Linked DNA regions of Homo sapiens: regions 1 and 3 are each linked to region 2. The links are contacts of gene promoters, found by promoter capture Hi-C in blood cells and fetal thymus (Javierre and others, 2016). All regions are on one chromosome and are shown on one strand. Each heading gives the region's core, a stretch centred on a gene start or on the middle of the fragment in contact. The rest is flanking DNA. Distances are from core to core; before and after follow the strand shown. Region 1 overlaps LOC105374510 (a long non-coding RNA gene). Region 2 holds the start of LCORL (ligand dependent nuclear receptor corepressor like). Region 3 overlaps QDPR (quinoid dihydropteridine reductase).

Region 1 (3,059 bases), core at 32-2,531, 570 kb before region 2:
AAAATACAAAAATTAGCTGGGCGTGGTGGCGTGTGCCTGTAGTCCCAGCTGTTCGGGAGGCTGAGGCAGGAGAATGGCTTGAACCCAGGAGGTGGAGGTTGCAGGGAGCCGAGATCGCACCACTGCACTCCTGCTTGGCGACAGAGCGAGACTCCATCTCAAAAGAAAAAAAAAAAGGTAATATTCACAGCATTTCTTCAGAACAATAAACTATGGACCAAGGAAATGAAAAAACTTGTTTCAGATCATACCCCTAAAAAGTGGCAGCATTCAAATAGCAGCACTTTGGTTAGCAAATCCCACTTTTCTCCCCGAAATTTTATGACACCATTACATCTAGAGTTGCGATGCATATATTACTGTATCTCCCTTACCTTATGAAATAGGGAAGCATGGAGATTCTCATCCTTATTTCCTAGAACAGAAACTTCAAAGTACCAATGATTTAAAGTTACAGTCACGCTAATGGGAGGATTAGCAGTTAGCACCCAATCAAGTACACTCAGCCCCTTTATGTGAGACAACCGTTTACCTAAACAATCACGATAGTTTGTGACTATCGTGAAACAATCCCAGTCGAAGAAGCGCAATGCTTCTGTCCCATTAATGTTAAGGAAAATCCTCTTCGACTGAAGGATTTGGGCGAGGTTTTCTCAGTTTGACCACATGGTGGCAGTATTACCATGCATTGAAAGACTTCCAGCCCCAGCAGTTCAGAATAAGAGTGCGCTGCCAATTGGCTCAGAAAAACATCCTTTTGTGTCCTCTTTGACTTCGAGATGTGCAAAAAAAGATAGCAAGCTGTGTGGTCTCTGAATAGAGAGCTCTGTTTCTTCTTTCCAGCTTACTAGAAGGATATGGGTGCCGAGTGAGAGGCAATACTACAGCAGCCTAATGAGCCAATTATTTTGTTTGGCACAAATATCACTAGGGACTTAGAGAAAGGTGCTTTCATACAAGAAGGAAAGCAAAACACAACTAACAACTACAATTTCAGGCAAATCATGGACTTAAAACGTGTCCCTGAGTTTAAGTTTTATTATCTTGTCTCTTTATGTGACTTTCCAACAAGGAGCAAAGAAATATTTGGTTTGGCATTTTTCATTTTTATTGGTGACTTCTTCAAATTGACACAAGTTGTATTTGTCTAGCAATAAATCCACAGTGCAGCCTGCTTGCCAATCTATGCATTCAAAATATTTCATCTTGATTATATATATCAGGTGCACCAAAGGGACTATCTCATTTAATCTTAAAGTAATTGTGTATAATAGGTGTCATTATTTTCATTTTACACAGGAAGAAAGTAAAGTAAAAAAAAAAATAAACTAACTTCAGCTCCCAAAGACAGTAAATACACAGAATCTGAACAATCTAATGCATAAACCCACAATTTTCCTCCCCATCACACTCATTTTACATTCAAAATAATTTCTCTCCCATTAAAAATTATTTTTTTATTATTCAAATGTATTTTTAAATTTTTAAGTAGAGAAGTTTCAAGAAAGAAACAAAAAATCATGCAGGCTTTTTTTTTTTTTTTTTTTTTTGACTGAGTCTCATTCTATCGCCCAGGCTGCAGTGCGGCGGCATGATCTCGGCTCACTGCAACCTCTGCCTTCCAGGCTCAAGGAGCTCAAGCAAATTCTCATGCCTCAGACTCTCAGACAGCTGGGATTTCAAGTGTGTGCCACCATACCCCGCTAATTTTTTGTATTTTTAGTAGAGACAGGGCTTCACAATGTTGCCCAGGCTAGTCTCAAACTCCTGAGCTGTGGCAATCCACCCACCTTGGCTTCCGAAAGTGCTGGGATTACAGGCATGAACCACTGCACCTAGCCCGTTTTTTCTTCTCTCTCTCTCTCTTTTTAACATAGATTCCATAGCAAGGATGTATTGTAATTAATTTGACAGATCCTAACGGTTTATTTCCTCTCTGTATGATCTTAACTAAGAAAATGTATGGTTAGTTTTCTTTTAATTTAAAAATGACATCATAGCACCACACCAACAGACTAAATATGGTTAAAGAGTGGTTGGACCAGAAAGAAACTAATACAATAAAAAGAAATACTGTTTTTATGGTTTTGAAAACTATCACATAACCGCACTGCCGATCACCTTAAGGCTGCAGCAAGGAGCACTTAGGGGGCCAGGGACAGAGCCCAGCTGAGATTAGAAGGGAAATCATCTTTCCCCTGGGTGTTCAAATCCTCCTTCACAGGAGGTGCTCTCTGGCAGGCATTTACCTAAGATAAATGATCCACATGCTCTAGGCTCATGGTCATAGGTTCATCTACACACTTGTTTCCACTAGCAACTTGTCCCTGATTTTCCATTCGTGATCCTTTCATTATTCCACCCAAACCATTTGCCACTGCCCAGAAGTGTGTGCACGGGTGTGTGTATGTGTGCATATGCCTGCATCTTAGCAGGCAACATCTCCCACCACACCAAGCTCATGACCAGGTGTTTAAAACTCTGCCCAGCCAAAGTATTCTATTTCATCATTGTCCTTTAATGGTGCTATAATAGAACAATAGTGCATTTTCAGCTAGCACCAACATCATGCCAGTCCATTGTGAACCAGGCCTGGGTCCTTTCCTCAGTTGTCAACTAATCACAGGAAATATCCCAGCAAGCCGCAGGTGTGTGTCAAGAGAGAGGTGTCAGAATAACATGGGAGTGAGTCTAGGCTACCTGTTTGCTGGTATCATTTCTGGATCTTCTTGAGCTCAATTCCTAATACACCATTTCCAGCATACATTCAGCTTACAATAGACAATTTGTCAGTGAGATGTCATCAATAGAGTAGACAGCATGAAGGTCTGATAACAGCAAGATGGTTGTGATCTCTACAAGCAATATTACAACAGAGTGCGGGAGAATTAACACAGCCCTAAGACATGGGAGTGTATGGTTACTGCTTTTCTGCTTTACAAAGGTGAAATGATTTGGATCCTCCTCCACTTATGTGGTGAAAAATAATGCATTTTCCAACTTAAAATATGCATTCCAAGCACCAGAAACTGTTTAGTCCTGCTGCAGTAACACACCAC
Region 2 (3,116 bases), core at 375-2,874:
TAACTAAAACCATCCACTGACAATTCCAAAATCACCTTCACTAGTGATTTCACCTGCACTCCAATTGTGACCGTTCTAGAAAAGGTGATTATGCGTTCAAACTTTATTATTTTTAACTTATGAAGATGCAAAATTACATCTTCACTACTGAAGTCATAATGAGCAAAGAAATACTTTCTCATAGGAAGAAAAAGAAGGTGGATAAGGATAAGCCACAAAACAGGGAAGGTGGTACTGAATTCAGAGTTTATGAGATTTCCAAGAAGAATTAAACATATTTCCCACAGACTTGTGAATAAATTTCCAGAAATACACAGTACTTCTTAGCAAACGTTGGGTAGCTTAGCTTCGGCTTGATAAACTGCACTTATACGGAAACAAACGCACAATCGCTCTGGTGCAAAAGTAAAAACTGTGATTGGAGTCTGTATTTAAACGTAAGATTCCTCTCTAGCTCTCTCTGAAGAAGTTATTTTCTCTAGCACGTGGTAGAATTCATTCCATTAACCTTTGTAAAGTGCTTAATCCCGTGTCACGCACTGTACTAGGGTCTAGCGAGTGACAGATGTCACGGTACAGAGATCTCAGTGGGTCGCTGCCCTCCAGGAGCTTATAAAGAAAATTTTCCTTCTGCAGTTTTCAGCCGGCTACACCCAGTCCCCTGCAAGTAATTTTCAGTGAAAAAAACCCGCATCTTTTTCCTAGTCCTTGCAAATATTCTGGCTTTCCGAGATCTCTTCGCCTTGAATACCGAAGTCACTCCGGGATCTCTCTCTGGACGTTTGGCAGTTATTCCAGATGTAGCCGAATGACCGGCTTGCCCTTTCCCTGCGGAGTGACAGGAAGACAGCGACCCCGGAAAGTTTCCAGCACTTAAAACGCAAAGCGCAGCCTGAACCCACAAGGAGCCGACAACTCTTGCGGCTTCCACCACCCTTCTATCGCGGAGCCTAAGGAAGCTAAAGCAGTCGGGTCAGACCCGGCCACCGGGCAGCGCATGGTTCCGGGCGCAGGGAGCGACAGACTCAGCCCCCCAGCGGCGCGGCGCAGAGAAGTTGCAGGCCAGCCTGCATACCCAAGTGCGGGGGGGAAGAAAAACAAACAAACAAAAAAAATCCTTTCTTCTGGACTACAATGACCGGCAAGCAACGCGCCACGGCGCCAAGTTCAGCTTCGGGATCCTGGCGAAATGGAGCCTGGGAAGTGAAGTCTCCGGACTGTCGGAGTCCCGTAGTGAAGGCAGAAAGTAGGCGTTGCTAGTCCGCTCCACTAGCACGCCGGTTCCTGGCTGGGCTCCGGGTCTCTCGCTCCCGCTCAGGGTTTTCGCGGGCGGCGGGAGCGGTATGGCTCGCCTGAGTAAACTCCAGCGGGAGGGGGAGGAGGGTAGTGGGTGGGGAGGCGGGGTCAGCGGAAGCGGCAGGTTGCTTCCTTCTCCTCTGGCTCCCTCCCCGCCTCTCCCTGAGGGAGCGGTGGGAGGGGGAGGGCAGGGCAGAGGGAAGGTAGTGACACGTGTCAATCAACCCCCCTCCGGGGGGCGCGCGCTCCGGGGCTCGCGCCGAGGGCTCGCGCCCCTGCCTCGTGCCTGCGCTGCTCGTATGTAAATGAGGGCGCGTGACGCGGGACGCAGATGGACAAGGGAAGAGAGAGAATGGCCGCTGCCGCCGCCGCTGCTGCCGCCGCCGCCGCCGCCGCTCAGTGCCGGAGCCCTCGGTGCGCGGCGGAGAGAAGAGGATTCCGGCGGGAACTCGACTCTTGGCGCCACCGCCTCATGCACTGTGTAGGTAAGAGAGACGCGGGCCGGGGCCCCGGGCTCCGCGCGGCGACCGCTGTCGCAGCCCGAGGAGTTTGTGGCTGAGGGGTTTAGTTGAATCTCCCGTTCGGGTTAGTTCGGTGGGGGAGCGAGATGGGAGCGGCGCGGCGCGGCGGCCCCGGCGCTCGCCTTTTGTCTTGCGGGCTGCTGGCCCGGCGCGGTCCGCGCTCCTTCGCCTTCCCAGCTCTTGGGCTCCCCGGGAACTGTTAGTTTGGACCCGCTTGCTGAGCCCCCGCGGAAGCCGCCCGCTCGCTCTCTCCCCGAAACTCCTCGGCGCCCGTCGCTGCCCGCCGTCGCCCGCCGTCCACCCTGACAGGACGGAGGAAGCGGCCCGGTGGGTCGGCGCCCTGGCGGAGGAGAGCCGGCGGGCAGGGCGGCCGGAGGAAGGCGGGCTGGTCCGCGCCCCCGCCGAGCGCACACACACCCCCTTGTCGCCGCCGGGGGCCGGGTGAGCAGACGCGGCCAGTTCCCGGGGACCTGGACCTGGAGACCCACGGGCACTCGCAGGGCGGGGGCCGCTGATGGGCCGGCTGGGGGCGAGGGGCGGCGGGGGCGTCGTCCGAGGGGCGGGGGGCGCCCAACTCTGCCCTCTCGCGCTCGGCGGCGGCGCTGTGTGTACCCCTTTAAGAAGGAGCCGCTTGAGCGCTGACGGTTGGGATTTGAAGTTCTTCCTCCCTCTTTGGAAGTCTGGACGGATGGGGGGTGTTGCCACGGCAACGACACCCTCCCCCCCGTCTGCTTGCGGACGCCCCGACGACTCTGGTCCTCTTTCACTGTCATGTGATGGACTCTTCCTTACACACACACACACATATACACGCATACGCATCGCCCTCCCCACCTCCCATCCCCATTCAACTGCAATTCCCTCTTTTTGGTTGGATCTGAATCGTTTTGCCTCAAACTTCTGGGCTTGGGGCTCTCACCCTGTGGATTGTTTAGGGTGACAGGAATGGTGGGACTCCCGACCTTGCTGCAGTCGCTTTTTTTTTTTTCTTTTTTTGCCTAAGACGAATGCATAGAGCTGTTATCCAGCAGGTTGGTTTAGTGGGCTTAGAGGGGCGAACACGGATTATGGAATGGGGCGCGTTGTGGGTGTTTGTTTTGGAAGGGGGTTATGGGTGGGAGTGTAGGGGAAGAGGTAGAAAGGAAGGTTGTATTGTGTAAGCAGTGGATAGTGGCAGCAGCTTGCTCTACTGGCGAGTGAATCTTGGCATTTGGAGTTGGGGAGTAACCCTAGTGTCTTAAGAAAACAACTCTCTTACCTTGTTTCCATCTGCTCTGGCACCACCTCGCACCCCCGACC
Region 3 (3,134 bases), core at 387-2,886, 520 kb after region 2:
TTTTGTATGTTTTGGGAGCAAGAAATGATAAATGTGGATCCATCAGGTTTTTTTCCTAGTCTTTTTTAGTGGGGAAATGCAATTTCTTGTTTATCACCTACCAACCCCTCCTATATCAGGAGGACATCCTTTTTTGATCACCAGGTACCACATGCCCTTCGAGTTGCCCAGTTGGTGGTGTGACATATGTTACCATTTGTTCTTCCTTATGTCTCTGGCAAGGCCGGGGAGTTAAAACAAGTGTAAAATGGTTGTTATTTTAGCTTTCTTTTGAAGAGTCTTTAAAGCTAACATTAAACTTTCAGACATAAAATATGTAGCTCAGTAAAAGCTCTCTTTATAGCTGTACAGTAATAGGCCCTTGGATTTTTATCACAGAGAAAACCTGACGTAGACATATAGGTTCTTATTACAAATCTGATACCATTCATAAAATAAAACAATCTTTGAATTAAAGCCAGTCCAGCAAATCAGTAAACTCCAGGTTTATTTTGTAAAATTTATTGGCCAACATTTTGCCAGTGTATAGGTAAGGAAGCTGAACCTCAGGCAATCCCATGGCCTGGATTTGAACCTGTGTCTCTGACCACTGAGCCCTGTGCTGTTTGTGTTAGACCTTGCTGTAGATAGGGACCTGGGGACCAGGAGGGAGGGCCTCCCTGAGTGTGGGGCTGCATGAGTTGAGCTCACCTTTTGGTTTCTTTCCTGGGAATGCTGAGCCCACATGTTTTTTTCACTCAGCTCTCTTTAAGAACTGTGACCTGATGTGGAAGCAGAGCATATGGACATCGACCATCTCCAGCCATCTGGCTACCAAGCATCTCAAGGAAGGAGGCCTCCTGACCTTGGCTGGCGCAAAGGCTGCCCTGGATGGGACTCCTGGTAAGCCTTTATTTCCCTATCTGTGGAGTGGGGTTGCTTACCTTGCTTGCTGGGGCTGCTGGGCACTTTCATGGGATGAGGACTGTTAAAGCCTTTACCCTCTAAGCTGCTTAACAGATAGATGGATTTTGTCTTCTTTTGGGCCTGAATCATTTTAGGGAGAAGAGTTCTGATCTTTTGTTTGCCTGTCCTTATGTTTATGGTGGTGGTAAGGAACGCTATGATCTGGTAACCCCCATTTAGTTTATTTATCTGTGATCTACACTGGAATGAATGGTTTAGTGGATATTAATTAATTAATAAACATGGATTATTATTATCACATTGAATCCATGTGTTCCAGGGAAGCAGCTTAGCAGCTGGAAATAGCATAAGTTTAAAATGAGAGAGGTTCATTTGGCCAGCACAGTGGCTCACACGTGTAATCCCAGCACTTTTGGGAGGCTGAAGCAGGAGGATTGCTTGAGCCCAGGAGTTCAAGACCAGCCTGGGCAACATAGTGAGACCCTATCTCTACATTAGAAAACAAAAAGAGAGTGAGAGGGTTGGGGGTGGATTCTTTATCCTAGATGTGTGACCCTGAACCAGTTCTTCAGTCTCTGACCAGATGTCTACTGTAGTTTCCTTAATTGTAAAATAGTGACAGTGACATCTAACTTGAAGAGTACTGTAAAACTGTAGAGGTGTAGCTATGTAGAAAGTGCACATGGTAGGCACCCATAAATGGCAAGTCTTACTGTTATTCACAATAAATGGTAGGTCTTATAGTCACTCTTTTCATTTCACATATATTCTCACTTTAATCTCATCAATATTATCTTTTTCAGTTTACAGGTTAGGAAACTAAAACTTGGAGAGTTAAGTAACTTGTCTGGGTTTGTGCAGGAAGTAAGTTGCAGACTTACTTGAACCAAAACCCTAATCATCTACCAACTGTGTATTTTTTCCATTATGTCATTTCTTTTGCATTTTTTATGACCTGTATTAGTTTGTTTGGGTAGCCACAGACTGGGTGGCCTAAACAACAGAGATTTATTTTCTCATAACTCTGGAGGCTAAAAGTCTGGAGATCAAGGTATCTGCAGGGCTGGCTCCTTCTGAATCCTCTTTTTTTATAGATGGCTGCCTTCTCCTTTTGTCTGCATGTGGTCTTCCCTCTGTGTGTCTGTCCTCGTTTCCTCCTCTTCTAAGGAAACCAGGCATATTGGACTAGGGCCCATCTCAATGGGCTCATTTTAACTTTGTTGCCTCTTTAAAGATCTTCGAATACAGTCCCATTCTGAGGTACTGGGAATTAGGACTTCAATATACGAATGTTGGGGGGATCTATTTCAGCCCATAACACTCCCTGTGGGATAGGGCTAAAGGAATTTAAGCAGGGGTAGAAAGGGGCAGCATAGGGAGGCAGAAAGTGTCTACCTCAACTACCTAAGTTGAACTCTTCTTTTAAAAAAATGGGAGCTTTTGGCCGGGTGCAGTGGCTCACACCTGTAATCCCAGAACTTTGGGAGGCCAAGGCGGGTGGATCATGAGGTGGAGATTGAGACCACCCTGGCTAACACGATGAAACCCTGTCCCTACTAAAAATACAAAAAATTAGCCAGGCGTGATGGTGGCTGAAGCAGGAGAATGGCGTGAACCCAGGAGGTGGAGCTTGCAGTGAGCCGAGATCGCGCCACTGCACTCCAGCCTGGGCAACAGAGCAAGACTCCCTCTCAAAAGAAAAAAAAAAAAGGTGGGGGGAGCTCTTTTTGACTCTCTTGTAAGTGGTAGAGACCTTGGGACCCTTCTCAGTTGTTTATTTTTTTAGAGACAGGGTCTCACCCAGGCTGGAATGTAGTGGTATGATCTAGCTCACTGTAGCTTGGAACTCCTGGGCTCAAGCAATCCTTTGCCTCGGCCTCCTGAGTAGCTGGGACTGCAGACACACACTGCCATGCCTGGCTAATTTTTGTATTTTTTGTAGAAGCAGGGTCTCGCTATGATGCCCAGGCTGGTCTCAAATTCCTGGCTTCAGGTGATGCTCCTGCCTTGGCCTCCCGGAGCACTGAGACTACTGGCATGAGCCACTACGCCAGGCCCCTTCTCAATTTTAATGTAACTCACTGAACTGTGAGGCTGTGACTACTAGCAATACCTTCCCTCTCATTTTCTTCTTCCATTTCTTAGAGCATGTGATGTTACAAGTCCATGGCTATAGCAATCATTAAAGCTGTGTAAATGTTAGCTGTCTGGTTGGTTGAGATCTGATT

The links. Contacts are between HindIII fragments. The CHiCAGO score rates a contact against its expected background, and 5 or more counts as called.
Region 1: a contact is called between a fragment that was not itself captured here and the fragment with the promoter of LCORL in region 2, in 10 of 17 cell types (naive B cells, naive CD8 T cells, endothelial precursors and 7 more). The highest score is 9.4, in naive B cells.
Region 3: a contact is called between a fragment that was not itself captured here and the fragment with the promoter of LCORL in region 2, in 4 of 17 cell types (total CD4 T cells, naive CD8 T cells, non-activated CD4 T cells and 1 more). The highest score is 8.1, in total CD4 T cells.

Annotation. Positions count from the first base shown.
Region 1 is chr4:18,591,346-18,594,404 of GRCh38, reverse strand. All of the region lies in intron 1 of LOC105374510 (a long non-coding RNA gene), which reads right to left. Among named protein-coding and RNA genes, the nearest start is that of LCORL, 570 kb to the right of the region's middle. The HindIII fragment of the contact is 4,680 bases long and covers 1-3,059 here.
Region 2 is chr4:18,020,263-18,023,378 of GRCh38, reverse strand. It overlaps LCORL (ligand dependent nuclear receptor corepressor like), which reads left to right and starts at 1,624. Exons shown (of 8, transcript NM_001394446.1): 1 at 1,624-1,781. The coding sequence starts at 1,628. RefSeq lists an enhancer at 993-1,252 and silencers at 1,303-1,762, 2,083-2,412. The HindIII fragment of the contact is 12,000 bases long and covers 1-3,116 here.
Region 3 is chr4:17,499,467-17,502,600 of GRCh38, reverse strand. It overlaps QDPR (quinoid dihydropteridine reductase), which reads left to right. Exons shown (of 7, transcript NM_000320.3): 4 at 742-882. Among named protein-coding and RNA genes, the nearest start is that of QDPR, 11 kb to the left of the region's middle. The HindIII fragment of the contact is 6,470 bases long and covers 1-3,134 here.